Linked DNA regions of Homo sapiens: region 1 is linked to region 2. Evidence: promoter capture Hi-C in 16 types of primary human blood cells and fetal thymus (Javierre and others, 2016). All regions are on one chromosome and are shown on one strand. Each heading gives the region's core, a stretch centred on a gene start or on the middle of the fragment in contact. The rest is flanking DNA. Distances are from core to core; before and after follow the strand shown. Region 1 has its middle 150 kb from the start of ADGRA3. Region 2 holds the start of ADGRA3 (adhesion G protein-coupled receptor A3).

Evidence for each region. Contacts are between HindIII fragments. The CHiCAGO score rates a contact against its expected background, and 5 or more counts as called.
Region 1: a contact is called between a fragment that was not itself captured here and the fragment with the promoter of ADGRA3 in region 2, in 1 of 17 cell types (fetal thymus). The highest score is 5.3, in fetal thymus.

Annotation. Positions count from the first base shown.
Region 1 is chr4:22,664,020-22,667,952 of GRCh38, forward strand. No RefSeq gene overlaps it. Among named protein-coding and RNA genes, the nearest start is that of ADGRA3, 150 kb to the left of the region's middle. The HindIII fragment of the contact is 3,952 bases long and covers 684-3,933 here.
Region 2 is chr4:22,514,417-22,518,363 of GRCh38, forward strand. ADGRA3 (adhesion G protein-coupled receptor A3) reads right to left here and starts at 1,650. Exons shown (of 19, transcript NM_145290.4): 1 at 1,112-1,650. The coding sequence starts at 1,368. It overlaps MIR12115 (microRNA 12115), which reads left to right and starts at 896; the gene lies at 896-969. The HindIII fragment of the contact is 8,309 bases long and covers 1-3,947 here.

The DNA.
Region 1 (3,933 bases), core at 1,410-3,909, 150 kb after region 2:
AAAATGCTCCCTTTGGGTTAAAGCCAGCTATAAATTTCTGGGATCTGGTGTAAAATGAAAATGTAAGACCCCTTTTGAAAAAGCTGAAGAAAAGTATTAACGATGCTTAAATATAAAGTTATTTTCTTCTACAGGCTCTCTCGAAATTTTATGGTTATTTGCCATTTCATGTCATCATAACTTGAAAAAGTTAATTATTAGCATAGGCTTTATCATTTGTCTTTATATTGTGCAATGCCAATTTTAAATGCAACTATAAGAGCATTTAACTCACATGTGGAATCACCAAAAGTATGTAATTTATATTTTATAGCTTATACATGTATATCAACAAAAGGAGTTGGACAATGGGAGGAAGAACATAGTTGATTCCATGAGATAATTTGGATTGAGAGCTCAGTTTATGAACCCAGTGAGACACTCACATGGACTTCTAGAATTAGCTATTGAAGAGTTTACAGGAAGCAGGAAATCCCACAGAAACGGATAGTTCTAAAATTAGGAAATTTGGACCATCTGTTAGTATATCGTTTTTACCCATGGGATGATGAACATTAAGGTAAACTGGGATAAATATAAAATGAAAGATGAGGTAATAATCACTTCCTTTTACTTCTGTGTAGATTCACCACCAAAGTGTACATGAGAGACACCAAAGTTCATTCTTGTTCACTTTTTAAATAAGCTTTGTGAATCTCTCTATTTTTAAAATGGCTTTATTGAGGTATAATTTACATACCATAAAATTCACCCATTATCACTGCACAATTCAGTAACTTTTAGTAAATTTACAAAGTTGTGCAGCCAGCACCGCAATCCCGCCTTAGAAACTTTCTATCAACACAAAGGGTTCCCTCAAAGGCAATTACCACCCCCAATCCCAGCCCCAGGCAAGCATTGATCTGCTTTCTGTCTCTATGATTTGTTTTTCTGAAAATTCCGTATAAATAATCTAGTATTTGCAATCATTTATGTTGGGCTTCTTTCACTAAGTGTAATATTTTTGAGGCCCACCCATGTTGTAGTATGTAAAAAGTAATTCATTTCTTTTGGTGATTGACTACTATCTTATTTTATGGATAGATCACATTTTGTTTATCTTTTCACCAGTTGTTGGCTGTTTGAGAGGCTTCCAGCTTTTTGGCTATTATAAATAATGCTGCCACGATCATTCACATCTTTGGTGGACATCAGTTTTCATTCCTCTCAAGTAAATGCCTAGGATGGAATTGCTACGTTGTGTGGTAAGTTTCTGTTTACGTTTTTAAGAAGTAGCCATATTGATTTCCAAAATTTCAAGGTGTTCTCCCATTAGCAAATCCTGACCAATATTTGGTATTGTCATTCTTTTTGATTATAGCTTTTCTAGTCTCTGTGAAGTAGTATTTCATTGTGATTTTAGTTTGATTTTTCCTGATGATTACTCATGTTGAACATCTTTTCATGAACTTCTCGATCACGTTTGCATTTTTCTTTATGTCTATTCAAATCTTTTGTCCTTTTTTAAAAAACTGGATTGTTTGGCTTCTTACTGAGTTATAAAAAGTCTTTTTTTTTTTTTTTACCATGAGTACTAGTCTTTTCTTAGTTATATATGTTGCAAATATTTTATCCCAGTCAGTGTCTTGCCTTTTCATTATTAAACGATATATTTTGAAGGTAAAAAGATTTTAATTTTGATAAAATTTATCAAAGATACCCAATTTATCATTTTTTCATTTAACACATTTTGCTTTTGGTGTCATATCTGAGAAATATTTGCTTAATCCAAGGTCATGAGGATTACCTTCTATTTTTTTTTCTAATTGTTTAATAGCTTTAGCTCCAATATTTAAGTCTATAATCCATTTTTGAGTTAATTTTTATAGATGGTGTGAGGTCTGAATTAAAGTTTATATTTTCAGTGTATAAAAATCCAGTTGTCTTGACATTTGCCTTTCCTCAAAGATGACAAGTCATTGACATCTTTGACAAAAATCAATTGACTATAAATGTGAGGGTTGAAGTCTTTCTATGTTACATTTACCCTCCTTTTTCTGGTCTTAAGGACGCAGGGGATGATAGAATGTCTCAAAATTACATGTATGCTCATCCCACATTATACATAGTAGTGTCAGAATAACAAGACTAATATTACCAGTAAAGGCATAGTGGCTCATACCTTTAATCCTGGCACTTTGGGAGGCCAAGGTGGGAGGATCACTTGAACCCAGGAGTTCTGGACCCACATGGGCAACATGGTGAAACCCCATATCTACAAAAAATATAAAAATTAGCTGGGCATGGTGGCTAATTTTATGTTGTTCTTTTATGGTTCTCCCAGCTACTTGGGAGGCGAAGGTGGGAGGATCACTTGAGCCCAGGAAGCAGAGGCTACAGTGAGTTGAGATCACACCACTGCACTATAGCCTTGGTGACAGTGAGATCCTATCTCAATAATTGTAATACCAGCACCAATATAACTTTCCATTTTAAAGGAGAAAAAGGATTCTCCTTTTCTTACCCATCACAAGATTCAAGACTGACATTCCTCTAACGAGACAGATTAACAAGAGAAAAACATAACAAATTAATTTCATCAACATTTTATATGGCACAAGAGCCTTCATAAATGATCTAAAGACCCAGGGAAAACTAAATATTGTTATGGATCTGTGCAAAAGTGTGATTGGAGGACAAAAGGGTATGATCTAATGGATATAAACTAGGGGGAACTTAGCAAGGCCTGTTTGTTCAGATTGTTCTTTGCCTCCAGGTATAAGGAAGAATCCCTCTGGAATGAGGGTCATATCAGGTCACACCACATGCTTTGAGGGGAAGTAAGCCAGAGAATTCTTTTTATGACCTCAGGAGAGAAAGGTAGGAGAAATCAGAGAAAGAGAAGATCACAAAGACCTTTCTGCTTCTGCAATTTTCTCAATTTCCTTCAACTTAAAATACTCAGTATTCCAAGATGTCATATTTTGGGGGTAGCATTTCCATCACCCCATCACCATTTATTTTTAAAAGTGATCCACTGAAATGCCGACTGGAAGCTCTGGGTAAGAGCCTCTCAGGTTGGGGCTCCACTCCGGTGTGATGTGGCTGGGCGGTCATTGAGGAACCCTCAAATGCCATTATCCCTTGATTTTTCTTCTGTTTTCAGTTCCCCCATAAAGAGATTCTCTTATCTGCAGCCAGTAGACAGTTCTGGAAAGCAGGAAAAGAAAGAGGCTGCACCATAAATACATTTCCATATAGTCACCCTTTTCATGCTGTAACTTCTTCTTAATTAAACCTCATGTCTCTGAGTCCTGTGTCTCTGACATTTCTTCAGAGAATAAGCAGCCATTCTTTGGTTGCAGAAAAAAAAGGATAATTCCTCTACTGCTTAATAGGGTCAAATAAGAGGTGTGATGGAGCTGGCTTGAGCCAGCTCTCTGGAAGACATGTGTTCATGTCTTCCCAGTTCTGTGTTGAGTAACATTATATTGATAGCTTGAAATTGGCCATGATGGGAATATTTACGTCATGAAAACTGGCGAACAGGGCTTTTTATTGGGGGTGGGGTGGAGTAGGGAGCTGGTTACCAGCACAGCACTGGATCTTATCTTGCTGCTTATAAGACATATTTTTGGTAAATCCTTCATTGCTCAACCCTACCAACAATATCATTTTTAGATTTTGGAATTCCAAGGGCTAAGTCAGCTTGCCAGCTTGCTTCTACGCTGTCTCCTACTGGTAGCTTTGGTTTTGTTTTTCTCTGTTTTGCTAAATCTGTTAATACTTGTCCAATTGCTTTCCAGTTTCTCACACTTTGTTATCTCTTCTCATTCTGTTTGTCAATTTATCCTTACATTGTTATTTTAAGATTATTAGAAAGAAGGCTTGAACACAAAGTAAAGAGTATTCATTTAACCATATTTAATTTTAAGTAGCCTTTAGCTTTAAAAA
Region 2 (3,947 bases), core at 400-2,899:
AATGAAGGTAAACAAAAGTGTTAGTAATGAAATGTATACCTGGCCTACCTGTGTATACTCCTGCTGAATTTGGGTTACATTTAAAACCATACTTTAAGTGTTTTCATAGATCATGCTGCGGTCCTTGCATTCATGTTTGTATAGTGGCTGCCTTGATTCTTTTTTTAGGAAACCAACCAAAACAACATAGAGGAACCCCGAGCCAAGGGACTCACATTTCAGTTGAACAAAATACCCATGAGAAACACTTAGACTCAAAACTTTCCAAACCAATTCATCCTTCTGAAAACAAACTCGACAGTCACTGGGGCCAACTGTTCAGCTAGAATTGGCAAAACTACGTTTGCAAAACTGAACCGTGAATCCCAGCACAAGTGAGTTACCAAAATTTTTCCTTCCAGGTGGAAACTCAATCCGAAAATCAAAAATCCCTCGAGTTGGAAGGCTCAATAAACCCACGGTTTTCAGTTCCAATGTTCCTGGCTTTTAAATATAAGCCCTCACAGACACGAAAACGGGACTGCAAGGTACATAAACAGATTGATCTGAAATGTTTCCAGCCCTTAATAACAACTCTATCTTAAAAGGTGCTCTTTAACTGTAATAAAACTAAGATAGCAAAAGGCAAAGGAAGCGTCTTGGGGTTTGGGCTCGCACACAGTCCTTGTGTTTTGCAAACTCTACCACGTAAGTGTAACTTAATTTGCAAAGAAGCAGAAGGACTGGCGCTTGCAATCAAGCATTGTGTTTTCTGGAAACCCAAGCCCAGGATGAATGAGCTTTAACTCTGTTGACTGCGTGTTTACTTGCATCCTCACGTGGCACCGCGCAGCCCAAAAGCGCTGCGCCGGGGACAGCGCGGGGAGCGCCTGAGAACCCGAAAACTTTACTTTGCAAACTAGTGGAGCTGGGAGGCAGCTCGGACGCAGATTCCCTTGCCTTTCCCTGAACTGCACCCATGCCAAGCACACGAGGTCTTTCCTAGCACCGCCCCCTGCCTACAGCTCCACACAAAGGCGCGTGGGTGCCGGCTGGACCCTGCTCCAAAGTTGAGCGGAGAGATAAGAAAGAGCCGAGCGGGAGAGGACCCAGCGTCGCGGGAGATACTCACAGGGTGACCGTGCGGTTGGGCAGAGTATCTGGGGGCAGGACCTGCGCGAGTTCCAGGCTGCTGCACACCACCTTGCCCTCGGCGGCGCCCGCCGCCCTGCCAGCCCCTCGGGGCCGCCCATCGTGCTTGCAGCCGGCGGGCAGCGCCGCGGCGCCGCCGCCGCCGCCGCCTCCCAGCAGCGCGAGCAGCGCTAACAGCGAGAGCGGCAGCAACAGCGGCGGCTGCGCGCGGCCCCGCCGGCGTCCGGGTGGCTCCATGCTGCGGGCCGGGGCCTGCGGGGCGAGCGGCGGCGCACTGGCCTAGCGGGCCGCCCCGGAGCCCGGGCGGGCAGGAGCGCGGCGCGGGCCCAGCGGCGACCGGAGCCTTATGGCGGCCGGAGGACGGGCCTTCCCCGGCGCGGACATGCTCCTTTGTCCGCTGCGGCTGCGCTGGGCCTCTAGGGAGCCGGGGGTCACGGCCGCATGGGTCCCAGCGCCGCTCTACCGCCCGGCGCGAGCACCGCCTCCTCCTCCTCCTCTGCCGCCGCCGCCGCCGCCACTGCCTCCTCCCCTGGCCAGGACCCGCGCGCGGCGGCTCCTCCCCGCCCGCCGCCGGCGGCCGCCCCCGCCCCTTCCCCTCCTCTTTCCCGGCTCTCCTGCTCTCCCCGTGTCTGCAGCTGCCCGGGACCTCGGGGAGGAGGCGCGCGCTCCCGGGACCTGCCGAGCCCGACTCCGACCCGGTGCGCGCCCGGGCCTCGGCCTCCGGGCAGGAGTTGTGGGGAGCCCGCGGGAAGGCAGTAACTCGTAGAGAGAACGGAGGAAAGTTCGAGTCCGAACGGAGGAAAGTTCGAGTCCAAACTCCACCCGCGGTGGCCACTCTCCTGCTCGTTTCCCTTCGCCGCCACCGCGCTCGCACCGCGGGCACAGGACAAAGCAGTCTTGTGCGCTCCTGGAGACTGCCCATGTGGCCCAAGGAGCCTGGCCCGGAGGATGGAGTAGGGACGAGAGTAGGGAATTTCCCTGACCAACCCTATGGGAAAAGTACCCAAAACCAAGTGTTTCGGAAGGAATCGCCTTCTCACCTCATTATGGTAGTCTTATTTGTCCCAAATACACTGGAGCCAGTAAACAGGTTCCTCTTCAATACAGTGAACAATCTGAAGCTGTTTCTGGCCTTCAGCAACAACAGCGATGGTCTCTAAAGGATGCATCTGGACCTCACTAGAAAGGCAGCCTTTTGAAAGAAATTCGACAGGCAAAGATACTTGAGATGTTCACCAGTTCGAGCAATAATGAGCAAACCCTCCAAGAAACCCCAACAGAATTGATTACTCTGACTTCCAGCCTCGCCCTAACATTTGCAAGCCCAGGGCTTACCTACCCTATGTTTAAAATTTTACAAGGACTATATCATGCTAATAAAATATATTCTGTGCTCCTGCCTTGAGAAATTACCTTCATAACAACCTGGAAGGTTTGTAAGCAGGATTCTCAGACACCTTGGAGTTTCTCCCTGAAACATGGCAGGTGGGAAAGAGTCAGATCCAAACCTTTGGCCTGTACACCTTCACCGTCTTTGCTTCCTGTGCCCAGCTATCTTCAAGGACAAGAGGGGATTTTTTGTACCTGTGTGTGAACACCGCAGCCCACAAAACCAAGTTCTGTTCACACTTTCTAACAGCCACCCTCTGTCTGCGTCTGGATCTCAGGTGTGCCTATACCAGTTGTTGGGTCCTTCATTGGGAGGACAGTTCTCAGAAGAAGCTAGCTCAGGGCCAAGAAGTGGCTTTGGTAATACCAGTCAGGGAATTCCAGGGTCCTGGGTCTTGGGGACATAGTGGGTACCCAGGCTTTGGGTGCTGGCCTGGAGATTTTTCACCCCATAAGAAGAGTCAGGTTGGTGTCCTCTAAAATGGAGGGCCTAGAACACGGTTTTTCTTGCTTGGGTCTAAGGACACTACTGCCTCTGGCCCCTACAAAATTTATCTTAGGGACCAATTTGCAGGAATCTGTTTATCTGGCTAGAGCTTTCTCAATGGGAAGTAAATAAATGGTCTCCATTTATCATTTATCAGTGTTGTATTAAATTTGAATAGCAGTTCATTTGACCAACCCAACCATGTCCAGTGCTGTCTAATAATACATTCTGTGATTGTATAGCTGTTCTAGTTCTTTGCTGTCTAATATGGTGGCCAACTGTGGCTACATAGTGTGTGGAATGTAGATAGTGTGCAATAAGAATTAAATTTTTCATTTCATTTTAATTAATTTACATTTGAATTTAAATGCCCAGTGGCTACCCTGTTGGTGTTGAACAACATAAGCCCAGACACTATGATGGGAAGAAAAAGTGGGAGATTATCTGCACCATTAAGTGACTTCGGATCTATAAATAACCTTAGCAGGCACACTGGTGCCTCTGTGTTAAGGTGGGTGAAATGGATCACATTTCTCTTGAATTTATCTGAAGAATTATTATTCCCTAACAAAATAATGATCTGTTTTTTGATTAAGATAAAACCTTACTACAGATTGAGCATTGAGCATCCCTAATCCAAAAATCCAAAACCTGAAATGCTCCAAAATCCAAAACTTTTTGAGTTCCGACAAGTAATACCTCAAGTGCAAAATTCCACACCTGGTCACATGTGATGGGTCACCATCAAAATGCAGACACACTATGCAGTTTACTAGCATCCCCAAGGGAAAAAAGCCCCTCCCAGCCCTTTTCTGCTGCTATATATCTTTTCAGGGCATGCCTAAATTCCCCCATGCAAGCGTGCCCCCCAAAGGTAATCAAATGGCATGCATGCAGGCTGGATTTGCCAACGACAAGTTCCCCACAATGCCCACACTGG